Regions from separate parts of the Homo sapiens genome. Here region 1 is linked to region 2. Evidence: promoter capture Hi-C in 16 types of primary human blood cells and fetal thymus (Javierre and others, 2016). All regions are on one chromosome and are shown on one strand. The core of a region is centred on a gene start or on the middle of the fragment in contact, and the rest is flanking DNA. Distances in the headings are between cores, read along the strand shown.

Region 1 (4,699 bases), core at 1,751-4,250, 280 kb after region 2:
TGTTGTGTGCCTTTGTTTTGACTGACCTGTCACATGAGGTCAGGTGTGAAATTCTCCATTTGTGCTGTCATGTTGGCACTCAAAAAGTTTTGGATTTTGGAGCATTTCAGATTTCAAATTTTTGGATTAGGAATGCTCAACCTGTAATTCTTTATGCTTTTGATTCTACAGAGGCTAAAATTTAAACAAAAAGCTTGCTGAAATTACTGCTATAGACTATGCATTATTTCTGTAAATAAATACAAAATTGAGATTTCCCTAAGCAAATCAAATACGAAAACAAATTGAAAAACTTTTTATTTTCTAAAAATATCTTCTGTGGCGCACATCTTATTGAAGTCAGCATCTACTGCAATTGTGGAGTATTATGCCGTAAGGACCAATCTAATTATAGCTGACAAGACTCCAATTTGCCTATACTTTTAATGTCAAATTTTTAAAAAACTGATTACTAAATAACATACTTTCTAAGAAATAAAATTTCAAATTTCCTGCTTATTTATACACTTTCCATTGTACTCAAATACTTTGTTCCCAGTTTTCCTAGATACCTACTTCCTGGAACCTCTGTCCTACTTACTTGACACAGTAGTCATCCTGGGACTTTCCTCGTTTTCCTTTGTGACATCTTTTAGTTTCAGGATCCCATGCCTTCTCAGATTACTCCCTCATTTTGGTAAAGCACATCCTCCAAGTGGCTTCCTAAGAAAAGGTAGATGGTGAGATAAAATTCTGAGACCATGCAAGTCTTAAGGTATCTTTATTTTAGCCCCACTCTTGATTGGATTATTTGAGTACAAAATTCTGCGTTGGAAATCATTTCTTTTTAAATTTAAAGACCTTGCTTTCATAGTCTTTCCGCATCCAGTGTTGCTACCAAGAAATCTAAATGCCATTTTGAAAACGTATCCTTTTTATGTAACTTTCTCCGCTACATTTATTGGGAAGCTTTTAGGTCCTTCCATAACTCTAGCATTCTGAAATATCCTAACAATGTGCTTTGGTATTTTTTAATTCATTTCACAGGGCACTTAGTGGACCCTTTTAATTTAGAAGACTAAAGTCTTATTATTTCCGGGAAATGTTATTTTAATTTTTTTCTCTCTTCACCTTCTTTCTCTGTTCTCTCATTTTGGAACTCATTTATTAGATGTTGCATCTTATTCAGGTTTAAGTTTCTTTTTTGTTCTTGCCTGCTTTTCATCTCTTTGTTCTACTTTTTAAAATTTCTTCAAGTTATTTTCTAATACATCTACTGAATGTTTACTTTTGGTTTCCTGTTTTTCCAATAGCTTTTGTTTTTGGATTGGTCATTTTTTAAAATAGCATCCTGATCCTATTTGATGGAAGCAGTATATTCCTTTCTGAGAATATCACAGCTTCTTTATGTTCATCTTTCATGTTGAAGGTTTCCTCAAATATCTAGTGATCCTTGGCTATCTGTGTACAGTGATTCCAAGTGACTGAAAGCTGTATATGAAGGAGCAGGCCTTGTGGACTCTCAGTTTCACTGTAACAAATAATCGAGGGTCAAGCTGTTTTTTTACTGCTTGTCTTTTTCGGTCAGGTGAGCAGGGCTGGGTATAAGCCCCATTGCCAGATTCTGTAGCCAGGTGGAGAAAAGTGGACTGGAGGCTCATAATGTTCAGAATACTCACATTCTGTTAATCATTTTGTCTTCCATATAGCACATCACTACCATTACCATCCTCCCCCTGTCCTCAGTTCTAAGTCTGTTTGGTTTAATTTCTCCAGACAATAAGGCTTCAGTCATCTGCTAGAGAGATAGCTGCCTGCCTACAAAAGAAGAGCAAAAATAAATGTTCAAATAATCCCCTTGTTTCAACTTTCTTTATTACTCCCACCTTCCAGGGTACCTTGTGCCTTTAAATCCTCAAGTCTTTTGGGGGTTCTGGAAGGCAAAGATAGGTGTTCCAAATTTGTGAACCTTTTCTGTGATGAAGAATGGGTATCATAACTGTGCTACCTATCGAGTATTTTTTGTTTTTAAAGAGTGATATACTTTCCCTTCATGGTAAAGAAGAGTGAGAAAGTAACTGCTTAAAACACACACAGATGGCCAGGTGCGGTGGCTCACGCCTGTAATTCCAGCACTTTGGGAGGCTCAGGTGGGTGGATCATGAGGTCAGGAGATTGAGACCATCCTGGCCAACATGGTGAAACCATCTCTACTAAAATACAAAAAATTAGCTGGGCATGGTGGTGCGCACCTGTAGTCCCAGCTACTCAGGAGGCCAAGGCAGGGAAATTGCTTGAACACAGGAGGTGGAGATTGCAGTGAGCCGAGATCGCACCACTGCGTTCCAGCCTGGCGACAGGGTGAGTCTCCATCTCACAACGACAACAAACCACAAACCCAAACTACCTGCTGTTGAGACAGCATTTAAAAAATTTGTGTTTGCAAATATTGTAATGGTTATGTGGTTATTTTAGCTAAATACCACGTGTCTCCTATAAAAACTCTCATATCTGCAATTGGGCCTCCTCTTCTGACACTCAACAACAGTTCTAAGAAATAAATAAATAAATATATAAGAAATACAACTTGGGTCAACTATGTGTGAGCCTTCCTTGCCCCCAGTCTCTTATTATTAAATATTATTATTTTAGAGATGGGCGGTTGCTCTGGTGCCCATGTTGGAGTGCAGTGGCATGACCATAACCCACTGCAACCTCAAACTCCTCAGCTCAAGCAATCCTCCCAATTTAGCCTCCTGAGTAGCTAGGACTACGGGTGTGCACCAGCACTGCTCCTGGCTACTAGTCAATTACTTAGACATAAGAAAACAACACATACTGGAAAGAGTCAAGACAGTTCCTGGGAACAACTACATAGACTAAAACCCAAGCTTAATCCATGCCACTAACATATTTATAGGGTTGCAGATAAAATGCAGGAAACTAAATTTGAATTTCAGATAAATAACATAACTTTTTTTCTGGTATATGTGCCATATTTCATTATTTTTCTGAAATTCAAATGTATTCGGGTGTCCTGTATTTCTTTTTGCTACATCAGGCAACCCAACCCATTTAAAGAAACGTGTCCCAAGTAGGATGTGACAACACAGAAAAACTGCATTCAAAGAAGGAAACTGGGGTCTGGTCCAAAGCTTTCAAGCCATGGGAGTCTACTTAAGTACCAAGTAGGTAGACAGGGATCAATATCATATAACACACTTTGCAGTAAGTCTACATGGAATGCATTGTCTGTGGCCAACATTAATGCCAGCTTTCAATTGATTCAGAAATTAGAGTTCTTCAGGTAGTGGCTGCACCCTTCTTTCACCAGAGCTCTGCCAGTCTATCAGGCCATTCTGGTTACTCAGGGTGCAACCAGAAAGCCCACCTAGGGTCTTTTTTGATGGAAGATGGCCATGCCCTTGGGCTGTTCCACTTGTTTGGGTACCTCTCAAAGAAGTTGCCCCTACTGGTCCATTGCTTAATTAATTTATTGTAAACCAAAACCATCAGCTGATACATTGGAGTGTCAGGTGCCACAGCTGATACCATAGATGGAAGGGTAGTATCAGGCATAGGCTGAGCAGTTAACCCAAACTTAACAATTTCTCCCCAAATAAAACTATAGTACCAGCTCCTTATTTTGCAACACTCATTTGAGGAGTTTCATCTGGTTTCTGTTGCTAATTTGAGAAACTAGCTTGGTTTATGTGTATACTAGGAAGTCAGTTTTAATCTTGTTAAGCTAACCAGTATCCTGAGTCCCTCCTGAATGATTGTTGTTATATAGAGCCTAACTCCCCTAATGATCCCAGGAATTTTCATATCACGTGTCAGAATCTTCCTAAATAAACTGCCCAAATTCCAGTCAACTTCGTTTTATGATTCAACTTGAAACTGTTGCTAACGTTTTTAACTGACTCCACAGTTTAGAAGAAATAACCCTATCGCTGTCTTCCTGTTACACTGTTATTTTCCTTTTTTTTTTTTTTTTTTTTTATACCAGGTACCAGTGTAACACCAGCACTTTGGGAGGCTGATGTGGGAGGATCACTTGAGCTCAGGAGTTCCTGACCAGCCTGAGTGAAACTGCCTCTACAAAGAAATACAAAAATTGGCCTGTGTGGTGGTGTGCACCTGTAGTCCACAGCTACTGATGAGGCTGAGGTGGGAGGATGGCTTGAGCCCAGGAGGTCGAGGCTGCGGTGAGCCAAGATTATGCCCCTGCACTCCAGCCTAGGCAAGAGCGAAACCCTGTGTCAAAAAAATAAAAAAATAATAATAATAATAAAAGAAAACCAGGCATTCATTTTCCAGAGCTCATTGAGAATAGCTGGTCATAGCTCTCACAGAAGATGGGAAGCCAGCAAGTGTCAGGTCACTGTGGTATATCCTCATCCTTTCCATTTCTTGGTCTCAGTTGCAAACTTAAGTCTCACTGCGGCTGCTAATTGAAAGGAAGAGCTTGGCAAACTGCATGGAATTAGCAGACTCAAATATGTAGTCATTAACTCAACTGTATTTAAAATTATTTGAGACACATCATAGACATTTTTCTTTTAGCAACAGCAAGTTGACATAGAAGTACTGGTGGTTGGTCCAGCTAATGTAACTCCCTCAGTCCAATGGGTATCACTGGCGGACAGATACGTTACCAGCTTGCACAGTTAACTCATGAAGTCTGAGAAGTTATCCATACTTCTCAGGCTGTTCTATA
Region 2 (4,410 bases), core at 453-2,952:
ACTGACGGCAGAAATATGACTCAATGATATTTACGCAAGTCCTGACTTGTCAAAGCATGCTTAATGTTAAAATAAGAACGTGAACTAACATTATTGATCACTTAATGTGCCAAGCAGTCTTCTGAGCCTTTTATATGTATTCTGTTATTTTTTACCAGAAAAACATTTGCTGTTTCAAAGTCACTGGGATGAAGATGAGCTGTTGTAATTCAAAGACCTGAATTTCAGCCCCAGCACTGACATCCAGTTTTTCATGAGAGAAATGGCTGAAATCGTGCATCTCCTGTTTACCTTAAAGGGTTGCTGGAGCATCAGAGGTGAGCAAGCATATGGTCAAAGCATTTTGCATTTTGTACATGGTAAAGTGCCACTCATCTGTATATATAGTAAGAGACAGGATCTCACTCTGTTACTCAGAGTGGCATGATCATAGCTCACTACAGCCTTGAGCTCCTGGGCTGGAGCAGTCTTCCAGCCTCAGCCTCCAGTAGCTGGGACTACAAATACACGCCATCAGGCCCAACTATTTTTTTTTTTTATTTTTTGTAGAGATAAGGTCTCACTACATTGCCCAGGCTCAGAAATTCTCATTTTTATTTTCATTGTGGAGTGGCCACTGAAGTGAGCCCCAGTTGCGAGGAAGGAAACTGACATTTCCATTAATGTGTCCCTCTGCTTCCTTGACACTCTCCAAGTGAGATTCCTGGGACCCCTATTGGTTAACAGTGCAACTTCCTGAACCCCCCTTCAGGCTTCTGTGACCAACTAAGAAATTTTACTGCTCCACTTTTGCCCAACTTTGCTCCCCAGAGATATGGATAGAGTGACTGTTGCCAGTCTCACATGATGTTAAGTTGATATTCAGGAATAAGGTAAAAGTCAAAATGTCAAAGTCCACAGTATAAGATAGAAAGGAAAGAATATTTCATTCCTAGTATCTACAGATTAAAAGGAAAGCCTAGATCTTCCACTATTAGAAGAGATGAATACCCCAGCAGTGTGGCTACTATTTGCTAATACACTAGAAAAACACTTTTCTCTCCCATTTCAGATAACGTAGAAGGAGGGACGGGTGAGAGCAATGTTAAGTGTTGGATTCCAGGCTACCCCAACAGCCACAAAGTAATTCTAGTCACAGTTTACCCCCAGCAGATTCACACAGTGAGAAATTCATAAGGCCCTATTTACACATTTCAATATTAAAGCCCCAAGAACCGGGGTCATTTGATGGTATTAATAACAGTCCTAAAGATTCTGACAGCAGTGACATTTCAGAGAAAGAAATGCCAGGGCACCCATGCATCAGCGAGATCGACATTTGATACTGCGCATTGTTGGCAATATTCAAGTGCTAATCATTCTGTTTTTGTTTTCCTTCTAACACATGCATTTTTTGAGATTGGTTTGCGTCTCTTAATCTTCAGAGCTACCTGATTTTGCTTATTACTAACTCCTTTATCATTACGAGGTCCACACCAGGGCTATTTAAATACTTGAAACGAGGAACAGTTAAACAGTCTGCTGAAACATTAGTCTAGGAGGAGATATAAGGTTACTTCCTTCAGTAACACACTCCGCTACATAGTCAGGTGAAGATTGTCTCTGTAGAGGCTTCTGGATGTGGTTGTAGGAAGCATGGACTGTGCAAGCTTGCGCTGAAGGAGGACGAGAGGATGGACCTACAACCTTGAAACAGAGTGTTTGGAAGAGCTGACCTTGGAGCAGAGCATTGCCGAGTATCTGAAAGATGTCAATGACCCTCGCTGCTGCTCGGAGACCTTGGGGATGACCTGCACCCACTAGCATGCCTGGATGGTTCAAAAAGGCGTGGTATGGGCTGGCGTCTTTACTCAGCTTCTCCTCCTTCATCCTGATCATCGTTGCCCTGGTAGTGCCCCACTGGCTGAGTGGGAAAATCCTTTGTCAGACTGGAGTGGATCTGGTCAACGCCACAGACAGAGAGCTGGTCAAGTTCATTGGGGACATTTACTACGGGCTCTTCCGAGGGTGTAAAGTGCGGCAGTGTGGGCTTGGGGGCCGCCAATCCCAATTCACGAGTGAGTATATTGGGAGCATGAAAGCTGATTCTAGGCACTCATTTTTGTTAATGTGTAAGAGTGCTTATGTCTCATTGTGGAATTTGGCTGCTGCCTCAACGTCAGGCATAATGTCAAAGTCCACAGTGAGCCAAGGGTTCTGGATCCACATCAAAAAGATCTTTCCTTCCTTCCTTGCTTCCTTTTCTTTTTCTGTAGAGATGTATAGAAACATTAGAAATAAGGATTTGTGCATTTTTGCAGTTTACCTCTATTAATTATGACTATTAAAATATTGAGAGTTTACACGTGTCAGACATTGTAAGCACCTCACGCCACTTGTCTCCTTAAAGCCTTACAACAAAGTTATACAGAAGGAATTGTTAATGTTCCCATTTTCCAGAGGAGTACACTGAGGCTTGGAGAGGTTACATAACTTACCTGAGGTCACCCAGCCAGGAAACAGTAGAGCCGGACTCCAGACCCATGCCACATGACCACAACAAGTGGGTGGAGGCTGCCTGCAGAACTGAACCTTTGGGAAGCATGATGACCCTTTCCACATCTACTTTTGTAAAAGCTTCATAGTCTGAGAAAATGCAAAGGGGCACTGTGCTTGGGTTCTGGAATCAGACTACCCTGGCTGAAACCCCTACTGGAAAGTTTACTGGTGGGGAGACCTCAAGCAAGGCACTTGCCTGTTCTCTGTGAACGTGAGCGGGCACCGACTTTGGCTGGCATTCAGTGTAGCATCAGAGCTGCCCAGGATGTAAGCAGAGCAGTCTGCACAAACAGGAATCCAAGCTGGACTTAGGAACGGGCTTCTGGAAAGGAAAAAACAAAACAGGCAATATTCTGCAAGCCTTTTGAATCGATGAGATCACTGGTGAAAAGTGTCTGCACAAAACCGTAATTAATCAATACCATGCCAATGTAGGGTGATACAGAATTGTATTCATTCCTTGATTTCTATATTTCAGTATTGTAGTAGTTTATAGAAATCTGGCCAAGGTAAATGTCGTATTAAATTTATAAGGACAAAAAGCTGGAACCGTTGACAAATATAATACAAATTGTCATCATTTAAACACACAAAAATTTACATTTGTTATGTATATTCAAGATCAATATGTCTGGGCATATTTATATTTACCTAGCAATTAGATTAGACCCTGGATATTGAACAAATAGCTCCATCAAAATTATAACATAAAACTTGAAAACACACACACATAAACAAATAAAAAAAAGAAATGCTAAAAGCTAACCATGACAACTACATGGACTACTCGATTCTGAACTAGATGCTTTGCTATAAAGGATGTCTTCGGGACTTTAGGGGTCAAGAAAACTTCCCCTTTGCACTCTGAAGGTTCTCTAAACAATCTACTGACAAAAGGCAGATTAATAGGGAAAATGGCTTACACATTTATTAGCATGCATAGGGGAAAAATCACAGAGTGATTGTCCGCTATCTCAATGGGGTACAGGTGGTTGTATCCTCTTCATCTTAGGGGAAAGAGAGATGGGGAAGTGTGGATGATTTTAGGGGACTAGTAAATTATTTTTAGGGAAATTCAATGGGCTTAAAGAACATACAGTGAGCTGGGACAAAGTCTGTTGAGCCCACAGAGCAGACATTGGTTTGTGACAAAAGTCTGTCCAGCTGTGTTAACAGACTTTAGTCTTTCTTCCTGTGATATGGGTACAATTAATGAACACTCAGGGAAGGGACCAGAGGTCTTTTTCTTTGGTAGGTCTGGATGTAGGCAGGTAAGGGAATGTCAGAGAACAACCTCATCCTGTGCTTATGAGACAGACAAAGAATGGAGAGACACGAGGGAGAGGGGAGGCCAGAGAGACCTTGAGACTTCTTCACAAAGCTTCATATTTTAGGGGTGTTGGTTTCTGAACCCCAACAGGTAAATCGTTGAAACTTGAATGGGGTGAGAAGATTAAACAGCAGTCACATGCCAGCATTAACCTAATGACCAGACCCCTGCCATTCCCAGCTCACAGAAATGTAAACTGCTTCGAGTAGGAAGCTGCAAACAAATGCATATTTTGTTTGAGCCTTGGAGGAACTCAGTAAGTACTTCTTGCCTTCCTCCTTCTTCCTTCTTAGAAGGACACCAATGGGAAACATTCCCCTGGGTTCATCTAACGTGGTCTGGTCTGGAAAGCATCAGAACCCTGTGAGAAGCATAAAGGACATTTTATTCTTGTCCCTGAGTAGGAGCGTATTTGAGAAGGTTTTGTTTCCTGCTGCCCTGGGGTTGTCTCAGAGGAGGGTCTGTAAACATCCATTCGCAGTACCTTGGATGTGATTCTCTTTCAAAGCATTCACGAGGAGCCTGGGGCCAGGTTCCTCCTG

The links. Contacts are between HindIII fragments. The CHiCAGO score rates a contact against its expected background, and 5 or more counts as called.
Region 1: a fragment that was not itself captured here is called in contact with the fragment with the promoter of CLRN2 in region 2 in 1 of 17 cell types (M1 macrophages); the score reaches 6.5 in M1 macrophages.

Annotation. Positions count from the first base shown.
Region 1 is chr4:17,794,351-17,799,049 of GRCh38, forward strand. It overlaps a transcript of DCAF16 not described here. Among named protein-coding and RNA genes, the nearest start is that of DCAF16, 14 kb to the right of the region's middle. The HindIII fragment of the contact is 264 bases long and covers 2,869-3,132 here.
Region 2 is chr4:17,513,463-17,517,872 of GRCh38, forward strand. CLRN2 (clarin 2) reads left to right here and starts at 1,703. Exons shown (of 3, transcript NM_001079827.2): 1 at 1,703-2,057. The coding sequence starts at 1,805. The HindIII fragment of the contact is 967 bases long and covers 1,648-2,614 here.